7 separate regions of the Homo sapiens genome follow, and regions 1, 2, 3, 4, 5 and 7 are each linked to region 6. Evidence: promoter capture Hi-C in 16 types of primary human blood cells and fetal thymus (Javierre and others, 2016). All regions are on one chromosome and are shown on one strand. The core of a region is centred on a gene start or on the middle of the fragment in contact, and the rest is flanking DNA. Distances in the headings are between cores, read along the strand shown. Region 1 overlaps LMNB1 (lamin B1). Region 2 overlaps LMNB1 (lamin B1). Region 3 has its middle 12 kb from the start of SPMIP10. Region 4 has its middle 56 kb from the start of SPMIP10. Region 5 overlaps LMNB1-DT (LMNB1 divergent transcript). Region 6 holds the start of PRRC1 (proline rich coiled-coil 1). Region 7 has its middle 73 kb from the start of LMNB1.

Evidence for each region. The method cuts DNA at HindIII sites, captures the fragments that hold promoters and counts their contacts. A CHiCAGO score of 5 or more calls a contact.
Region 1: a fragment that was not itself captured here is called in contact with the fragment with the promoter of PRRC1 in region 6 in 2 of 17 cell types (naive CD8 T cells and M2 macrophages); the score reaches 7.1 in naive CD8 T cells.
Region 2: a fragment that was not itself captured here is called in contact with the fragment with the promoter of PRRC1 in region 6 in 1 of 17 cell types (fetal thymus); the score reaches 5.6 in fetal thymus.
Region 3: a contact is called between a fragment that was not itself captured here and the fragment with the promoter of PRRC1 in region 6, in 3 of 17 cell types (total B cells, endothelial precursors and M2 macrophages). The highest score is 6.7, in total B cells.
Region 4: a contact is called between a fragment that was not itself captured here and the fragment with the promoter of PRRC1 in region 6, in 1 of 17 cell types (naive CD4 T cells). The highest score is 5.6, in naive CD4 T cells.
Region 5: a contact is called between a fragment that was not itself captured here and the fragment with the promoter of PRRC1 in region 6, in 1 of 17 cell types (non-activated CD4 T cells). The highest score is 5.6, in non-activated CD4 T cells.
Region 7: a contact is called between a fragment that was not itself captured here and the fragment with the promoter of PRRC1 in region 6, in 2 of 17 cell types (total B cells and naive CD8 T cells). The highest score is 6.1, in total B cells.

What each region holds. Positions count from the first base shown.
Region 1 is chr5:126,824,072-126,827,012 of GRCh38, forward strand. LMNB1 (lamin B1) reads left to right here. Exons shown (of 11, transcript NM_005573.4): 9 at 1,917-2,036. Among named protein-coding and RNA genes, the nearest start is that of LMNB1, 48 kb to the left of the region's middle. The HindIII fragment of the contact is 6,087 bases long and covers 1-2,941 here.
Region 2 is chr5:126,799,224-126,802,181 of GRCh38, forward strand. All of the region lies in intron 1 of LMNB1 (lamin B1), which reads left to right. Among named protein-coding and RNA genes, the nearest start is that of LMNB1, 24 kb to the left of the region's middle. The HindIII fragment of the contact is 6,808 bases long and covers 1-2,958 here.
Region 3 is chr5:126,642,296-126,645,028 of GRCh38, forward strand. No RefSeq gene overlaps it. Among named protein-coding and RNA genes, the nearest start is that of SPMIP10, 12 kb to the left of the region's middle. The HindIII fragment of the contact is 3,063 bases long and covers 1-2,733 here.
Region 4 is chr5:126,685,993-126,688,793 of GRCh38, forward strand. No RefSeq gene overlaps it. Among named protein-coding and RNA genes, the nearest start is that of SPMIP10, 56 kb to the left of the region's middle. The HindIII fragment of the contact is 4,504 bases long and covers 1-2,801 here.
Region 5 is chr5:126,771,198-126,773,925 of GRCh38, forward strand. All of the region lies in intron 1 of LMNB1-DT (LMNB1 divergent transcript), which reads right to left. Among named protein-coding and RNA genes, the nearest start is that of LMNB1-DT, 3.9 kb to the right of the region's middle. The HindIII fragment of the contact is 2,173 bases long and covers 342-2,514 here.
Region 6 is chr5:127,516,217-127,518,938 of GRCh38, forward strand. It overlaps PRRC1 (proline rich coiled-coil 1), which reads left to right and starts at 1,424. Exons shown (of 9, transcript NM_130809.5): 1 at 1,424-1,560. RefSeq lists a silencer at 1,292-1,361 and an enhancer at 1,422-1,601. The HindIII fragment of the contact is 4,735 bases long and covers 1-2,080 here.
Region 7 is chr5:126,848,267-126,851,124 of GRCh38, forward strand. No RefSeq gene overlaps it. Among named protein-coding and RNA genes, the nearest start is that of LMNB1, 73 kb to the left of the region's middle. The HindIII fragment of the contact is 7,004 bases long and covers 1-2,858 here.

The DNA.
Region 1 (2,941 bases), core at 140-2,639, 690 kb before region 6:
GATAACTCAATTATCATATAAAATAATGTGATACTTTTTTCCCTTCAGTTACTGGCATTAAATGTGATAAGCAGCTCTTTGGAACATGGTAGTAATAAGTGATCTTTCTGTAAAATTGCAGAGGCAAAAGCAAAGATCAGTTTAAAACTCTAGAATAGAAATATGAGAACCACATGTGTAATTTTAAATTTTCTTATAGCCGCATTAAAGTAAAAAAGAAAGACATGAATTTTAGAACTATATTTTATGAAACCCAATATATCCAAAATATTGCTTTAACATGTAATCAGTCTAAAAAGTCAGATATTTTTACATTCTTTTTTTTTTATGTTTAGCTAAGTCTTCAAAATCTAGTGTGTATTTTACCCTTACAGCACATTCATTTCAGACTAGCCATATTTTAAGTGCTAACAAGCCACATTTTGCTGCGGTATTGAATGACATGGCTATAGGACATATTAGTTTTAGGTTAAGTTAGCCAGCAAGGATACTGACATTTTATGATGATGATTACTAACATAAATCAACTATGTGATTACATATAGGCTAGTGAGAAATATTGCTTACAATTAGGGAAACACTAACATTCCACATAGTCTGAATGTTGGACCAGATTCAGTTCTTTTTTTCAGTTTAATCCCAGTTAATATCTTGTGCCCTTTTCCATTTGTAATGCTGATGAAAGATCTGGATGCTTCAGGGGAACATCTCAAAAGTAAGGGCTCTCTCCTAATCAGTAATTCATAGATTTTTTTTTTCCTGTTTCCACCCCACCCCCCCACCCTTTCTTTTTTTTGATAGAGACAGGATTTCACCATTTTGCCCAGGCTGGTTTTAAACTCCTTAGCTCAAGTGATCTGCCCGCCTCGGCCTCCCAAAGTGCTGTGATTACAGGCTGGAGCCACTACACCTGGCCCCCATTTTGAAATAATACTTGGCTTTGCCATCTTCAGCTTTCCTTTTGCAGTCATAAAGTCTTTTATATTCTATAACAATGTATGGATTACAAACTTTTCTGTTTCTATTTGTTTTTAAATGATCTTTCTAAGAGATCAGGGCTAGTAGTATCCCTGTAGCTAAAGGCATTGAGTTTCCTAGAGGTGTAGTGATTTGTCCAGAATTCAAACCTAGGCTTTCTGACTGCCAGGTGTTCTTCACTCTATCCATTCTCTTTTGCCAGTAGATATATAAAAAGAATTTCATGCTCATGAGAAGGGAAATATAATTATTTCTTTGACCTATTTCAATAGCAATTATATTTTCCCTTGAACAGCGAGTGATTTATACATTTCCAGCATTCTTTTTGGAGCGCAGTCTCAGATACTCTAGGGTATTGTGACATTGTCTGTTTGGAGACGTACCAGTTTCCATAAGATTATTCTAGATAGGCTCTCTGCTGCAGAAGGTCTCTTTAGTTCTTGCTGTAGGCAGCCAGAGAACATTATTAGAGGGAGTCACAGAAGGCTCTAACATGGAAGGATGGCCTATAAAACCCACAGAGTAATAGAACGCTGAGGCTACCATTCACTGAGTTAGCCAGCCACTGAATGTGGGTTATCACTTGCTCTTTTCAATAATCGCACCTGTTACAGGTGCCATTTCTACCCTGTTTTATGGATGACTAAAGTAAGGTAACTTGCTCAGGGTCAGCTGGTGTGTAAAGGAACTAGGATGTGAGTGTAGGCAGTTTTACTTCAGGGTCTTATATATTATCATCTTCACTTATCAGATGGGGAAGCTGAGGCCTTGAGAAGCTCTGTGAGTTCTCCTGGCCACATAGCTGTGTATAGCACTCTGTAGCTGGGGCATAGTTCTCAGACTTTTAGAATCAAGTGTTTGAGTCTCATCGCATTGCTGTCGTTGGCGTGTGGGAGAACTGGGTTCTGGGTGTACTGACATGCTTTGGTTTTTTACAGATTTGGGCTGCAAACGCTGGTGTCACAGCCAGCCCCCCAACTGACCTCATCTGGAAGAACCAGAACTCGTGGGGCACTGGCGAAGATGTGAAGGTTATATTGAAAAATTCTCAGGGAGAGGTATGGCCAGTTTATCAGGACCACCACAATGTTAATTTCACTTAAAGTTCACTGTGCAAGTATAATCAAGATCAGATTGAAACGTGCAATAACCGATTGCATAAACAGACCAAAGCTGCTAAGTTAATTGAACTGAAGCTGTCTTTAAGTTTTAGGAATAAATAGGAGTGTATTATAGAGTACTGATTATTAGCACAGGCTCCAGAACAGATTTTCTGTGTCCTGTTTCTGTTTTCACTGCACATTAGCTTTGTGACTTTGGGCAAGTTACTTCACCTCTCTTAGATTTGTCATTTAAAAATGGATATTAATGACACAATATCCATGAGCTAATAATAAGAATGAGACAGTACTTGGGAAATGCTTGGAATAGTATCTGGCATAGTACCTTTATCTAGTAAATGCTTAAATTATTAACCTTGTTACTAGCTCTCAGAATGTTCATGAAACTGTGAGTTTGAAGATTGTGGAGTGTACATCTTCTTGGAGTGTGTGTTTTCAGTGTGTCAGTCTTAGAATCCTTGTCAAAGTACCTTACCTTCCCCATTGCCACATAAAGACACTGCATATACCCCTACCAATACTAGTCTTAGAAATACTACTTCCTAATAAAGCGGCTAAAGTGTGCTTTGAAGCTAGTAAAACATGGCTTCCTCCTTGTCTTTCCCTAGCGAATCACCTTATCCAGGTGCTGTACCACGCATCACTGAGCCTCTGTTTAGAATTTGAGTCCCTCCTTTGTTGCTATTGCCATAAGCATGTTAATGGAGCTTTTGTTGTGAGTTCAGCATGGTTTGTTCTTCTCATTTTCCTTTTAGTTGTAATACTGCTTTTTCATCCTTTGCCTACCAGGAGAGCTGTAAGTTGGCTTGCAAGGAAGCCATTGGTCATAACCTTGTTCTGAC
Region 2 (2,958 bases), core at 89-2,588, 720 kb before region 6:
TAGCCAGGATGGTCTCGATCTCCTGACCTCGTGATCCGCCTGCCTCCCAAACTGCTGGGATTACAGGCGTGAGCCACCGCGCCCGGCCGCGATGCATTGACTTTTTCACTGTTAATATTGTGGCCTAAGGAGGAAGAGGAAAAATATATGAACACAGAACAATTTGTTTGTGGAGTTAAAGGGCTCACAAGGTAAGGACAGCTGTAAGAACTGTCTGCCCTGAGCTCCCAGTGCAGGTAGCCCCACAAGTCCCTTTTCATCATTTTACTTCAGCATCTGCAAGATAAGTCTTTATGCTACCTAGACAGCTACACACCTAAGTGTGGTGACATGGCCTAGTGCCTGACCCTGAGCAGTAAAGGTACTGAGGGTCCAGAAGAAGGAAGGGAATACTAAAAACGCACTTAGTTGGGACCCTGTCTTATTTATTTATCTTTCTCTTCCTGGTAGTACATAGTAGATACTCAGTAATGTCTGCTGGATTAGGTAAATATGTCTCAAAACTAGGGACCTGGACTGAGCCTTTCCGCACCGTCTCGAAACTCTCCTGTGTACCTGTGCATAAGAGTGCATATAAATGCCACTGTACATTTGTGTGGGTTAGAAAAAGCAAAAGTGTGTTCATAACCTCTTATGAGAAGAGACTATAAATTACTTTGCACCAAGGGCGGTAGCTGACTCTTGAGTTCTCTTCAGTGCCTGGTACAATGCCTGCTGCCCACCTGCTTGTGAAGGCTGTGGTGGCTTGTACAGGCACTGCAGGGCAGATCTAGATTGACTATTTGGGTCTCAGAATAACCTGGGTCCTCTGTAACAGAGGCTGAGTACTTATCTTTTCATGAGTTGTTATATTAAAGTAAAATTGTAAGCACTGCTTTCCTGTGGCTTGCTTCTTTCATTTTTTAACAGAAATTTTATTGAGTATCCCCACCCTATACCAGACATTGCCAGGCACTGAGGATCTGAAGGTAATCTCATTTTACCCACATTCCAGTGTAGGAGACAGACATGGAATCTTAAATTTTAAAAAGATGTATATACCATGCACCATATGAGAATGATGCACCAAGTGCTGTGGAGCCCAGAAAGGTACATGATTTTTTTCTGCTAGGAGAGGTAAAGCAGGGAAGCATTACAGAGGAAGGATGACATTTGTTCCATCCTTGGTCTTAGTTTCCAATGGCAGTTGGTTAGGAATTAGATGGAGTTAGGAATGGGAATAGATGGCATGGAGTGGGGGAGAGTGAAGTCCGAGGCTCAGAAGGTCTTTAGGACTTAGACCTGAAGGGCTTTCTAGGGGGACTGCCATGCCAAGGAGCTTGCATATTTCTTGGTGGTCAGAAGTTTTCAAACTGTTTTGCAGAAAACTAGGACTGTTGGGATGGGGCTTGATGGGACACTGGACCCTACACTGTATCTTCTTTTTTTTTTTTTTTTTTTTTTTTTGAGACGGAGTTTCACTCTTGTTGCCCAGGCTGGAGTGCAATGGCACAATCTTGGCTCACCGCAACCTCTGCCTCCCGGGTTCAAGCGATTCTCCCGCCTCAGCCTCCTGAGTAGCTGGGATTACAAGCATGTGCCATCACGCCTGGCTAATTTTGTATTTTTAGTAGAGACTGGGTTTCTCCATGTTGGTCAGGCTGGTCTTGACCTCCCAACCTCAGGTGATCCGCTTGCCTCGGCCTCCCAAAGTGCTGGGATTACAAGTGTGAGCCATTGCAGCCAGACTATATATATATATATATATATATATATATAATTTTTTTTTTTTTTTTTTGGTGGTAGGGTCTCACTCTCTCACCAAGGCTGGAGTGCAGTGGCACGATCAGGGCTCACTGCAGCCTCGACCTCCTGGGATCAAGTGATTCTCCCGCCTCAGCCCCTCTAGTAGCTGGGACTACAGGCATGTGCCACCACGCCTGGCTAATTTTTTTTATTTTTAGTAGAGATGGGGTCTCACCGTGTTGCCCAGGCTAGTCTCCCTTCCAAAGTGCTGGGATTATAGACGTGAGCCACCGCACTTGGCCAAGAAGTAATTTATAACAGAACAATTTATATTTTCATAGAACAGTGTTTTATGTGACTAAGAACTTGACATAAAATGAACAGTAGAAGCATTAGTCATGATTGAAATTAAAGCTCCTATAAAATTTCCACTGGTATCATTGGGTGGCCCTCAGGGTACCACAAGTAAATACTCTCTTCATCCCCTGTCCTCCTTATCTTCTTTGGTTTTTATTTTTATGGAAGAAATCACCATATTCTAGTCATCTGGATGTACTGCCTTGGGTTAATTTTTGGCTTCTTGTGTTTTCTACACTCCACAAGATGTTGAACACAGTATCTTTCACTTGGTAGTATGACATCTTGAGTTTTGAGCTATTTGCATGTATTACTTATTAAATCTGTGAAGTCAAATAAACAAGAACAATACTGCATAAAATATGCCGATTTTACAGGTTGTTCCATACAATAACTTGTAAAGTTGACATGCTGTTTTATGCAGTATCATTCTTGCTGGACCATTTTGGTCCCTGGAAGGCACAGGTCATTCTCCTGCCATGAGGCAGGATCACATTGAGAAGTACCACATTATGACCTGAGCTTTAAAAATTACTGTTTGTAATTGTTAAGTAATTAATTTTGAGTCAGTAGCTTTTGTAAGTATTGTGTAATACTGCATTTAAAATATGGTTTTATTTTCAGTCATATGTCTTATGACATGTATCCTAGCCCTTCTGGTAGTTTTATAGTGGGGCAAAATAGAGACTCCTTCACAAGTGTCAGTTCATTCCTGTGGAGACCCAGCACTTGTGTGAACTAGGCATTTTGGTTGTAAATTATTACAGTATGGGATTTTTTTTAACAGTTAATTTTTTCCTCTTCTGGACTAGTCTTCAGTTAAAGCCTGCCATCGTGTGGTGTTTTAAAGCATGAGATTTAAGCATGTGGCATGAC
Region 3 (2,733 bases), core at 149-2,648, 870 kb before region 6:
CTGCAAAACACAAGAAAATGAGGTATGCTTGTGATTCTTTTTATATGCTGCGGGATATGATTTGATAGTATTTTGCTGAGGACTTTTACATCCATATTCAAAAGGGATATTGCTCTGTACTTTTCTTGTGATATCATTGTTCAGCTTTGCTATCACGTTAATACTGGCTTCATAGAATGAATTGGGAAATATCCTTCCTATTTTTTGAAAGGGTTTGAAAAGAATTGGTATAAATTCTTCTTTAAATGTTTGGTAGAATTGACCAGTGAAGCAATCCGTAGCCTGGGCTTTTCTTTGCAGTTAGGTTTTGGGTTACTTATTCAATTTTTTACTTGTAGTAAGTCTATTCAGATTGTCTTTTTTTTTTCCTTGAGTGAGTTTTTGTTATTATTATTATTATTTTTTTTTTTGAGACAGAGTCTCACTCTGTCTCCCAGGCTGGAGTGCAGTGGCGCGATCTCGGCTCACTGCAATCTCTGCCTCCTGGGTTCACGCCATTCTCCTGCCTCAGCCTCCTGAGTAGCTGGGACTACAGGCGCCCGCCACCAGGCCCGGCTAATTTTTTGTATTTTTTTAGTGGAGACGGAGTTTCACTGTGTTAGCCAGGATGGTCTTGATCTCCTGACCTCGTGATCCGCCCACCTTGGCCTCCCAAGGTTCTGGGATTACAGGCATGAGCCACCGCGCCCGGCCCGAGTTTTTATTATTATTGATAATATTAAAAATAAATAACGCTGAATTAATATGAATATAGTTGGATTTATATTTGCCATTTTACTGTGTTTTCCATATGCCTCATGTCCTTTTTGTTCCTCAATTTACATTTACTGCTTTCTTTTGAATTAAGTGAATTTTTTTTTTTTTTTTTTTTGGTGAGATGGAGATTTACTCTTGTTGTCCAGGCTGGAGTGCAAAGGCGCGATCTCTGCTCACTGCATCCTCCGCCTCCAGGTTCAAGCGATTCTCCTGCCGCAGCCTCCCTAGCAGCTGGGATTACAAGCATGTGCCACCACGCCCGTCTAATTTTGTATTTTTAGTAGAGTCGGGGTTTCACCATGTTGCCCAGGCTGATCTCGAACTCCTGACCTCAGGTGACCCACCTGCCTTGGCCTTCCAAAGTGCTGGGATTACAGGTGTGAGCGACTGCGCCCGGCCTAAGTGAATATTTTCAAAGTAGCACTTTAATTTATTTAATAGTTATTTAATACATTTTTTGAATTATTTCTTTAGTGGTTGCTCTCAGGCTTACCATATGCAACTTAATTTATCAACTTCAGATTTCAACTAATTTAATTTCAGTGAGATATAGACCTGTTACTCCGATATAGCTCTATTTCTTGCCCCCCATTTTTGTGTTATTACTGTTACACATATTACATTTTTAAATGTTACAAATACAACTGTACATTGTTATAATCATTATATAATTTTATGTCTTTTAAAGAAGCTGAAAGAAGGAAAGATAGCAAGTATATATTCATAGCTTTTGTTATATCAACCTTCTCACTTATCATTTCTGGCTCTCTTCATTTGTTCCTGTGGATTTGAGTTACCATCTGGAGTCATTTCCTTAGTCCAATACAGCTATGCTACCACCCATCTCCTTTGGGCTGTTATTAGCAAATATATTTCTTGTTTTTTTAAATTGTTAATGTTTTTTTTTGAGACACAGTCTCACTCTGTCCCCCAGGCTGGAGTGCAGTGGTGTGATCTTGGCTCACTGCAACCTCTGCTTCCCAGGTTCAAGCGATTCTCATGCCTCAGCCTCCTGAGTAGCTTGGATTACAGGCATGTGCCATCACACCCTGCTAATTTTTGTATTTTTAGTAGAGACAGGGTTTCCCCATGTTGGCCTAGGCTAGTCATGAACTCCTGACCTCAGGTGATCCACCTGCCTCAGCCTCCCAAAGTGCTGGGGTTACATGCGTAAGCCACAGCGCCCATCCAGGCAAATATATTTGTTTATGTTATAGGTCCCAAAATACAGTGTATACATATTATTTTATACCATTGCTGTTTAAATCAGTTAAAAAAATAAAGCAGAAGAAATATGCATTTATACTATCTTGAATAATTACATAATTACACTTACTGGTTGTTAGGGACCAAATGTTTTTGTCCCCTCAGATTAAAAGATTGAAACCTAAACTCCCAATGTGATTGTATTGGGAAGTGAGTAGGTTTAGATGGAGTCATGAGGGTGGAGCCCCCATGATGGGATTAGTGTCCTTATAAGAAGAGAAAGAGGGCTGGGGCACAGTGGCTCACACTGTAATCCCAGCACTTTGGGAGGCCGAGGTGGGCGGATCACCTGAGGTCAGGAGTTCGAGATCAGCCTGGCCAACATGGTGAAACCCCGTCTCTACTAAAAATACAAAAATTAGCTGGGCATGGTGGCACATGCTTGTAATCCCAGCTACTCAGGAGCCTGAGGCAGGAGAATCGCTTGAGCCTGGGAAGCAGAGGTTGCAGTTAGCTGAGATTGTGCCACTGCACTCCAGACTGGCCAACAGAGCGAGAGTCTTTCTCAAAAAAAAAAAAAAAAAAAAAAGAAGAGAAAATGACCAGAGCTCACTCACTCTCTCCACCATGTGATAACACAGCAAGAAAGTGGCCATCTGCAAGCCAGGAAGAAGGCTCTCACCAGGAACTCAATCTTCTGGCACCTTGGCCTTGGACTTCCCAGATTCCACAACTGTGAGACATGAATGAATGTTGTTTAAGCCACACAGT
Region 4 (2,801 bases), core at 194-2,693, 830 kb before region 6:
ACTGCACTCCAACCTGAGCAACAGAGTGAGATCCTGTCTCGAAGAAGAAAAAACAAAATAAAATAATAAAGTAAAATGAAATAAATTAAGACACATATTCTTTGACCAAGCAATTCTACTTCTAGCTGTGTATGTTAGAGATGTGATCACATACTTCTGAAAAGACACATACACAAGATTATAGTATGTAAGTAGTATGGTATGTAATAGCAAAAGATTGGAAGCAACTTAATACACAATAATAATAGAGTAATGGCCAAATAACCCGTGGAACATCTATTATAAACATCCATTAAAAATAATAAGGCAGATTTGCAAGATACATGATTAAAAGAAAAAGGCAAAGCGTAGAATGATTTGTATAGTAACTACCATTTGTGTAAAAACAATGAGAGAGACAGAATCCATGCATGTATGTTTGTAACTGCATGGAATATCTCTGCAAGTATATATGGCAAATTGATAAATATCATTGATTCTGGAAAGAAACTGGGTGGCTGGAGAATAAGAGTGGAAGGAGACTTTTTTTTTTTTAAACCAAGTATTTTAGCTTGAGTTTGTGGGAATCAAACTCTGAGATAGAAATGAGTGCAGAAGATTTGTTGGGGAGTGTTCTCTGGAGATAACACCTGCAGGAAGTGAGGAAAGCAGCACTTTTTCTTTTTTTAATGTGGGGCAAGTACAGCTGTCCCCAGGGCTCTGGGAGTTCTCTATGGTCTGTCAGGGAATCCCTGGGGGCTAAGACTGCAGTGGCCAGGTTTTGTGCTTATTTACTGGGGGGTGGATTGAGGGAAGAGCTATGTACCCTTGGAGTACCCTGGCCTGACCATCTTTCAGGACACGTCTTGGTCAAGGCTGTCCACCTGTTGCCCTTGGTCCTTGGGCACTGGGAGCCATGGTTGCTGCTGCCTGTCCAGCTGGGCTCCCTTCCTAGGCCTGCCTGAGACCAGAGGCCTTAGAAACCCACAGTGCAGTTGCAGCTGAGAACTCAGCCTGCTCTACAGTTCTGTGATGAGCTCTGGAGTTGGGATGGTCCTTCAGCATCATAACAAATTGAGGTAAGAAAAACAGGAGTTTGTGCCCCCAACCCCTGCAGCCCATCACTGGCCTAGGGCTGCCCTCTGGGAAGGCCCTGGGAAAGGTAGCTCCATGCGGTTCACCCATTGACATTCCCCACAGCAGGGTTAGGGATTTCAGAGCCCTGAAGAAGATCCGGGCAGAGCAACTTCAAGTTTGTTGAAAAATAAAATAGAGGCTGGGCGTGGTGGTTTACACCTGCAATCCTAGCATTTTGGAGGGCCGAGGTGGGTGGATCACTTGAGGTCAGGAGTTCGAGACCAGCCTGGCTAACATGGTGAAACCCTGTCTCTGCTAAAAATACAAAAATTAACGAGGCATGGCAGCACGTACCTGCAATCCCAGCTACACGGGAGGCTGAGGCAGGAGAATCACTTGAAACCAGGAGGCAGAGGTTGCAGTGAGCCAAGATCGCCCCATTACACTCCAGCCTGGGGGACAAGAGCAAAACTCTATCTCAATAAAAAAAGAAAAAGAAAATAGAATAGCTTGCGTATGGTGGGCAAGGAGCCAGTACTCTACTCTGAAATTATAGAAGGCTGGCACTGAAAGCCCTCCTTTGAAATTGTCTTTGGGGGCCGGTAGCCTTCTTTTCTTTAAACAGATTACTCTGACATTGGTTCGACCTCCTAGCCCTGTCTCATCCAAGAGGGTCTTTCTATTCCTTTGAGGCCCCCATTCTCCCTCAGGTGACAGAAGAGGAAAGAGAAATAACCAAAGTGACTTGCCTTGAGAAAGCAGTTTACCACTCTACTTTAAATGCCATATTTTATCTCCCAGTCTAATTTTAGCTAGAGATTCTTAGCTACATCTAACTATCTAACTTGAATCCATTATGGTATTTTCTGTTTTTTTGTTTTGTTTTGTTTTGTTTTTTTGAGACACAGTTTTACTCTGTTGCCCAGACTGGAGTACAGAGGCGCAATCTTGGCTCACTGCAACCTTCGCCTCCTGAGTTCAAGCGATTCTCATGCCTCAGCCTCCCAAGTAGCTGGGACTACAGGCATGCGCCACCATGCCCAGCTAATTTTTGCATTTTTAGTAGAGACAGGGTTTCACCATGTTGGCCAGGCTTGTCTTGAACTCCCGACCTCAAGTGATCCTCCTCCCTTGGCCTCCCAAAGTGCTGGGATTGCAGGTGTGAGCCACTGTGCCCGGCCTTATTATGTTTTAAAAGGAGTTTGGTATCTTTTTCTTTGTGCTCTTTTACTTCCTTATTTATAAAGTTTAATAATTCACATGTTGCCTAGATTCTTCAACAAACAAATGAGATTTTTTTTTTTTTTTTTTTTTGAGATGGAGTCTTGCTCTGTCACCCAGGCTGGAGTGCAGTAGCACGATCTCAGCTCACTGCAACCTCTGCCTCCCCAGTTCCAATGATTCTCTGCCTCAGGCTCCCAAGTAGCTGGGATTACAGGCACATGCCACCATGCCAGGCTAATTTTTTTACTTTTAGTTGAGACAGGGTTTCACCATGTTGGCCAAGCTGGTCTTGAACTCCTGACCTTCTGATCCACCTGCCTCGGCCTCCCAAAGTGCTGGGATTAGGCATGAGCCACCATGCCCAGCCACAAGTGAGATTTAAAAAGATTTAAGAGACAAAGGAAATAGTGAAACTTATTTAATCCTGGGGCAAAAAAAGAAACAAACAAACAAAAACCCACCAAAAACCCACCAAAAACCCACTGCAGGCCAGGTGACCTGGCTTATGCCTGTGATCCCAA
Region 5 (2,728 bases), core at 178-2,677, 750 kb before region 6:
AAGCTTTTTTTTTTAACATGAAAATCAAAATCAGACTTGGAAGACATTCTGGATAGTCACTCAACCTTCTAAAACATGATGTCTACACTTTTATAATAACTGGAAAAAGTATCAAGTTTGTAAAATATATTTAGTCGAACAATCTGTTCCAGGAGAAGATCATGTATTCAGTTATTTCTTCATTCATCCATTCAGCAAACATATATTGAAGAGATACCATTTAGCAATTTTTTATTTCATTTTGTGTCGCAGTCCTAGCTATCCTATTTGTTTGCAATGTATACTCAATTTATCTGCCAGCTGTCACTCCCCTCTCCCAAGACAAAAGTGGGTTACTGCTAAGCTTTCAGTCTCTCCTCCCCATTCCTTCTCACCCCATCCTAGTATGGCCCCTTCTCCCCAGATGTCTTATGTATCATATATTTTTCTGTCCCAGATCCAAATGACATACATAAAGTAGGACAAATGTCAATTAAGTTCTTTACATGTAGTGAGGTAGTTGTAGGAGGAGTATGGACAAGGGAAAATGATGGCATGGCATTTTGAGACTTGGTGGGGATATATATGGTCTAACCAATAATCAGGACATGTGCCCTGACAAGTAAATGGAGGTGTATAGTAAAAACAAAGGCAGGATATTTGAAATCACCACTATCCTAGTAAATGCAGAAGTGTTGTCACCAAATTTACAAATTTGTTACTTCTAATTCATTGGGGAAAACTTTGGAGGGATAAGATTTCAGGAATTACTTGAATAAAGGGAGCTTGACTAACTTAGTATGAGAGAACAGAAGGCCATAATCCAGGTTTAGCATTAGGTATGGGAAACACCTAGAGAATAAGGAAAGTGTATATTTTGTAAAGTAGCTGACCAAAAATGTGCACAATTGTCTAATTCTTGTGTGTGTGTGTTTTGTTTTTGTTTTTTTTTTTGCTACGGAGTTTCACTCTTGTTGCCCAGGCTGGAATACAATGGCACTATCTCGGCCCACTGCAACCTCTGCCTCCCAGGATCAAACGATTCTCCTGCCTCAGCCTCCCGAGTAGCTGCGATTACAGGTGCCCACCACCATGCCTGGCTAATTTTTTGTATTTTTAGTAGAGATGGAGTTTCACTGTGTTGGCCAGGTTGGTCTCAAACTCCTGGCCTCAAGTGATCCACCCACCTTGTCCTCCCAAAGTGCTGGGATTACAAGGGTGAGCCACTATGCCCGGCCACAATTACCTAATTCTAAGGCTTCAAGATTTTCCATTCTTTTTCCTTGATTTTCAATGGAAACACATGATTACTATTAGTAAGCGTTACTATTTAGCCTTCACATGTTGTATGTCTAACACACTGCATATATTGTTTTATTAAATCTTTACAAATCCTGTGCAAGGTAAAAACCATTCCCATTTTCTTTTCTTTCTTTCTTTCTTTTTTTTTTTTTTTTTTTATGAGACGAGTTTCGCTCTTGTTGCCCAGCCTGGAGTGCAATGGCACGATCTTGGCTCACTGCAACCTCCACCTCCCAGGTTTAAGCGATTCTTCTGCCTCAGCCTCCTGAGTAGCTGGGATTACAGGCATGTGCCACCACGCCCGGCTAATTTTATATTTTTAGTAGAGATGGGGTTTCTCCATATTGGTCAGACTGGTCTCGAACTCCCGACCTCAGGTGATCTGCCCACCTCGGCCTCCCAAGGTGCTGGGATTACAGGCGTGAGCCACCGCGTCCGGCCCCCATTTTCTTTTTCTTTCTTCTCTTTTTTTGAGACGCAGTTTTGCTCTTGTTGCCCAGGCTAGAGTGCAATGGTGCCATCTCAGCTCACCATAACCTCTGCCTCCCAGGTTCAAGCGATTCTCCTGCCTCAGCCTCCCAAGTAGCTGGGATTACAGGCATGCGCCACCACGCCCAGCTAATTTTGTATTTTTAGTAGAGACGGGGTTTCTCCATGTTGGTCAGGCTGGTCTCGAACTCCCGACCTCAGGTGATCCACCTGCCTTAGCCTCCCAAAGTGCTGGGATTACAGGCATGAGCCACCGAGCCCGGCATGTGTTTTTTTGTTTTGTTTTGTTTTTGAGACGGAGTCTCGCTGTGTCGCCAGGCTGGAGTGCAGTGACGCGATCTCGGCTCACTGCAACCTCTGTCTCCTGGGTTCAAGAGATTCTCCTGCCTCAGCCTCCTGAGTAGCTGGGACTACAGGCGCGCACCACCATGCCCAGTTAACTTTTTTGTATGTTTAGTAGAGACGGGGTTTCGCCGTGTTGGCCAGGATGGTCTCGATCTCTTCACCTCGTCATCCGCCCGCCTCAGCCTCCCAAAGTGCTGAGATTACAGGCGTGAGCCACTGTGCCCGGCTCCATTTCCATTTTCCTTGAAGGAAATCACGGAATAATTTTCTTAAAGTTATACAGCTATCAGTAGCACATCCTCAATTGTCTGACTCCAAGAAAGTTGTTTTATATAATAGGATATGTATAATGTGAGCCTCTTCAAATAATCTGAAAATTGAGGAACTCTATCAATAGAAAGCTTCAGGCCGGGCGTGGTGGCTCACGCCTACGATCCCAGCATTTTGGGAGGCTGAGGCTGGTGGATCACGAGGTCAGGAGTTGGAGACCAGCCCGACCAACATGATGAAACCTCGTCTCTACTAAAAATACAAAATTAGCCCGGTGTGGTGGCGCAGGCCTGTAATCCCAGCTACTCGGGAGGCTGAGGTAGGAGAATCGCTTGAACCCTCC
Region 6 (2,722 bases), core at 174-2,673:
GCCACCGCCAAAGAAAACCGCCCATGGTAGTTGCACAGTGAGATCTGAAGTCAGAGTATTGCTACATAGTATTAACTTTTCAGTGAGGTATTTTGGAATGCTTACAACTGTGAAGCTCAAGAGATAGATTAATGTGAAATCTCTAAGTGAGTTCCTGAAAAAAAATTGAGAACAACAAAAACAATTTTTTATATATTTAATGCTAAGCAATTTAAAAAATGTTTTCGGACAGGTGCGGTGGCTCACGCCTGTAATCCCAGCACTTTAGGAGGCCGAGGCGGGCCGAGGTCAGGAGTTCGAGACCAGCCTGGCCAAAATGGTGAAACCCTGTCTCTACTAAAAGTACAAAAATTAGCTGGGTGTGGTGGCCTGTGCCTGTAATCCCAGCTACTCGGGAGGCTGAGGCAGGAGAATCGTTTGAACCCGGGAGGCAGAGGTTGCAGTGAGCCGAGATGGCGCCATTGCACTCCAGCCTGGGCAACAGGGCAAGACACCATCTCAAAAAGACAAAAAGTTTAAAAAATTTTCATATGCTCTATTTTATTTGAGTCTGTCACCTGCCTGATTTAGGGATGGTGGATAGTATTATTCTCAGTTTGCAGGTAGAAATATGAAGACTTATGGAGACTAAGTGACCTGTACAAGGGCAGGCAACTGTACAACTGGCATTAGAGTAGTCTCAGACTCAAATCAAGACTTCTGATTTGAAGTTCCTTATTTTCCTCTATCGCACTCCATTAATTTATTTAATGTACATTATTGAACACCAACTATTTCAGGTACTGTGTTAGGTGCAGCATATAATAAGAAAGTTGATAATCTGTCTATTTTACAATTAAAAAAAGAATGTGCAATACATGCACTTGGGGAAAAATTCAGTACAGTAACTGCTACTCTTCTCCCCTCTCCCTCTTCTCCTAATCCCTCTCTCCTGATATAATCACTGTTATCTGGAAATCTTTGACTATACAGGCTAAGTCCCCTGTATCTGCCGCGAGGTCCTTCCTGGAGGTGCTGACTGGACTAGCTGATGTTGGCTAGATGACCGCCAACCAGATGACCTTGGCTAACTGATCTTATCCCTTGGGCCGCTGTGGCACAGGATGAGTGAGCTACGCCTGGTAACAAGAGTGCCACTCTCGTGTAAGGGGGCTGCGAAGTAGAAAGGAGGCCAGCCCTTTGGAAGATGTTTCTAGAGGGTGTGGGCAGAACCAAGTCTCGGTAGTTAGGAAGATCTTGGCTCCAAAGTTTAACTTGCAGCGTCCCGGCCGGGTTCACAGCGCATGGGACAGGGGGGGCGGGGCGATGCGGAGGCGGAGCGGGGCGATGCGATGCGGGGCGGAGCGGGGCGGGGCGGCGACGCGCGGCGCGGTGCGGCGCGCGGCCGACGTGGCAGCCGCAGGAGCATGCGCCGCCCGTGGCCATCTTGTAGGCGGGGACACGCCGAGGTAACTTCCAGGGTGCGCCTTCGTTGTCTTCTCCAAGCTGTAGTTCTACGTCCCGACCTCCCTATCATACCACACTCTTCAGCGACCACGCAGGCACTTTCCCGGTCCCCAGGTGAGCGCCAGGTGGCTCCGAGGGGCGTGTATGAGGGGGGTGGCATGGCATGGCATGGCTTGCAGGCGCCAGAGCCAGACCCCGAGGGACGGTGTCCCTGGAAGGTGGGCGGGCCGGCCGGCGCCACTGGACGCCGATGTCGTTTGCGAGCCCCCTAGTCCCGTGGTCCAGGCTCAGCTGTGGCGGCGTGCGGGGTGCAGCAGGCAGGAGTGCACATCGCAAGGTGAGCAGTTTCCGCTGGGGATGGCACGGTGGGCGCGGTTCGAGGGTCTCGCCCCGCGACACTTTGCTCCTGTCCAAGGACCAAGGCAGGAGCGCTCTGGCCCCACCTTCCAGGGCGCTGACTTTAGGGGAGACTGGCGGGAGCGCCGGCGGACCTTAGCCCGGCCCTGTCTGGCCTGGAGACGTGGCAGAGCCTGAGGGGAAGCCGCTGTCTCCTGAAACAGGATTTCGGCCGCTCTGGCCCTGGAGAGGCCCAGGAGGCTCGAGAGTCATCACACCAGGACCTGCAATGAAAGGAAGCTTATTTTCCCTGAGGTTACCCCATCGGTGCTTAGCGCCGCTTGGGAGAGTTTTTGCATTCTCTCGTTTCTTTGTTTGGTCTTGGGACCTGCTTCAGGCAAATTTGCAGATAGCACGTTTCCTAGATTGACAGAATTTATAGCCAATAGTGTTTTTGTCATTCGAAGTAGTTATTTTGAGAGACAACATGTGCATTTCTGCGATCGTGACACATCTTGGCATTCAGTCTTTCTCCTGTGCAGCCAGTGTTTAATTCAGTGAAAATTTATAAAATTTTATTTCGGGGTCAGATTAGGCTCTAACTAGCGCTCACTGTTTGGTAGTAGAGACAATCTTGTGGCACGAGTAGGTCAGCAATAATTGCTCTTAATGCTTTAAAGTTTATCAGAGCTTCACTCTTCCATTTCTTGTAAACTTGTAAATAGACATCCACTTTTTTTTTTTTTTTTTAACAGAAAAACCAAGGCACAAGCAAATTGGAACAACAGGGTCTAGCCGGACTGAGAACTCAGTTTTCCAAACCATTTTCTTCACTTTTTCTTTAGTGTTGATATATGAATAGTACTTTTCGTGACAAGACTTGAGCCCTAAAACAGTTACCAACTCTGACACTTCAGTATTGTTTTATCATAATAGGTTT
Region 7 (2,858 bases), core at 131-2,630, 670 kb before region 6:
AATAGTGAGCCTGGGTTCTATCCCGAGACATGTTGCATTTCATTACCAGGAAAAGTAATGCGTATTATTACAATCCTTCTGGGAGGGGTCCTTCCCTGGAGAAAGAAGGGCGTGGGTGCTAGAGGTGAATGCTTTGGGTCACTCAGGCAGACCTTATACCAGAAATCCCAGAGGGGACCTGAAGCTGGGCCCTTACCGGACCTTACAGCTGGGGAACACTGGGGACCCCACTGGGAGAAACCGACAGGGGCAGGGTCTGGAAACGCAGTGCTGCTCTGACATGTGGGGAGTACACACCAGCACGTGTTGGTCTCTGACACACGGGACACTTTCACTCTCACATAGGAAGGCAGAAAAGCAGCATAAGACCCATCAAGAGGAAGCAGGGTGAAAGGAAAGGGGGCAAACATTTATTGAATGTTCACTCATGCTTGAGTTGTCACATCAAACATTACCTTACAGCTCACAATACTGCATTATTAGTATTGTCCTTGTTTTGTAGATGGGATAACAGGCCCACAGGTTGTCATTTATTCACTTGTTCATTCCTTCACCAACCATTCACTGGGAGATTTAGTTTTGCCAGGCGCTACTGAGCAAGGCATCAAGAATACCAAGATGAGACAGCCAGTTCTTTTCTTGAGGAACTCAGTGTGATCACAGTTCTATTATCCTTGATGACTATGCCTATTCTGCTATCCCAGGGAGCTGTCAAAAAAAAAAATAACATAGCCAGTTTACTAATGAAAACGGTGCTATTAATTGTTGAAATGAATGGGAACAATTCCAACTGTCGGATAATCCCCAAATCCCTATTTAAAATCTCTGTTGTTTCTAATGTTCTTCAAATTAATGGCAAATGTAATAAACATTGTTTTCATGGTGAGGTTTAGAAAATGCTTTCTTGTATATTAGCTGATTTGCACCTCTCAGCGTATGAAGATGGACTTAGGAGCAGGAACAGCTCCAGCTCTTGCTCAATCTGCCTTCCTCCCACTATCGCATCGTAAGCTCTCAGATAAGGCAGAAAGCCACAGCCCTGGTAGAATGACCTTTCCTAAACTGGCTGTTTCAGGATGCACTTTCCCTGACATCAGGGAGGTAGTTAAGTGTTCTGATTTAAAACTCTCCTTTGGGGGGATAGTCACCTTTAGGTAAGCTAACACACCACCCAGCAAGTAGGTGAAAGCAGTTTGGACCCCAGTGATGCAATGTGTTACTGTATCTAGGAAGTGTTGAAAATGACCCAGAGGGTATGCAAGTACATCCAAGTTATCCTGATGGGGGTAGGGTGGGGATGCTGTGAATAACAGGAATTATTGGAACTGGTGATTCAGCTTTGATTGGAAAGGAAATAAAATAAATGATTTTTTAATGATAGAGAATTCAATTATAGTCATGGGTTATGTCCCAAATTTATACTTTCCCACATAGATGGGTCTTCTCCATAGATAGACTTCACGTAGAAAGAATAAACAGCACATTGTTTTTGCCTTTGAACTAGGTCTGTGAATGGAAAACCCTTGATAAGAGAAGTAGTTAATGACACTAAGTTGCTGTCACTTAGTGATGTAAGTCTAAAAAAGCTAACATTCCTGCATCTCAGTTTCCTTATCTGTAAATTGGAACTAAAGATCCTGTTACAAAGAGTTGATAGTGGAATAAATGAGGCCATGTAAGATGGTCATACCAATATAGTAGGTTGTAAAGAAATAGGAATTTAAAACTAATTAACTTAAAATTTTTTGATCACGGGAATTAAGATGGGAAGTAAGGTGAGGCTGTCCTGTTATAAAATGGCAGGGCTGTTAATTATTGTTGGCTTAAGTAAGTCTATTAGCAAAAATAGTGCCAGTCAGAATTAACATTTCTCCTGGGTTAAGTCAACTGAGTGGTTAAACAAGGAAGGCCATTGAGAACACTGGAAACACCACATTTTACTCATTTTATTAATAAATATTAATATTAATTAAACAAACTTTTTTTTTTTTTTTGAGAGACGGAGTCTCACTGTTGCCCAGGCTAGAGTGCAATACAGCCTCTGCCTTCCAAGTTCAAGCAATTCTCCTGTCTCAGCCTCCCAAGTAGCTGGGATTACAGGTGTGCGCCACCATTCCCAGCTAATTTTTGTATTTCTAGTAGAGATGGGGTTTCACCATATTGGCCAGGCTGGTCTCTAACTCCTGACTTCAAGTGATCTGCCCACCTTGGCCTCCCAAAGTGCTGGGACTACAGGCATGAGCCACTGTGCCTGGCCCACAACAAACATTGATTAATCACTTACTAAGTTGCATGCTGTGCACTGGCAATACAATGGTGAGCGAAAAGAAATTTCTGCCTGACCCTGGTTGGGGTGGGGGTGGGGGGCATCAATCAAATATTCACACCGATGTGTAGAACAACAACTGTGGTCAACTGCTGTTATAAAAGGCAGGCACCACACGGCACGCTTCAGGAGCACTGGTCTTTTATGGGAAATGGTCATTAGGAAAGAATTGTCTGGTAGGAGGCTGAGTTTCAAAGGTGAAGTTCTCGCCTCCGCAGTCATGACAACAGCTCCAAGGTTGGGGACGTTAAGGGGGAGGTTCAAATTCTTTGACTTCTCGTTAAGACGATTTGAGCTTATTAAAAACTGGCCATGATCTCTCAGAGCATTAGCTAAGGGATACAGCTGGTGATCCTGATAGGGCATTTTGCTCTAACCTTGGAAGAATCCGTCTAGACTCCAGCCAGAACTTGATTGCAGACAGAACAGTGGAGAAAGAGGGGCCACAGTCCTGCAGCCTCAGTCTGTTTCCCTGGTGTTCCTGAGTGGTCCTGGGTACTCACAGGCACCCGAACTCAAGGGTCCAGGTCAG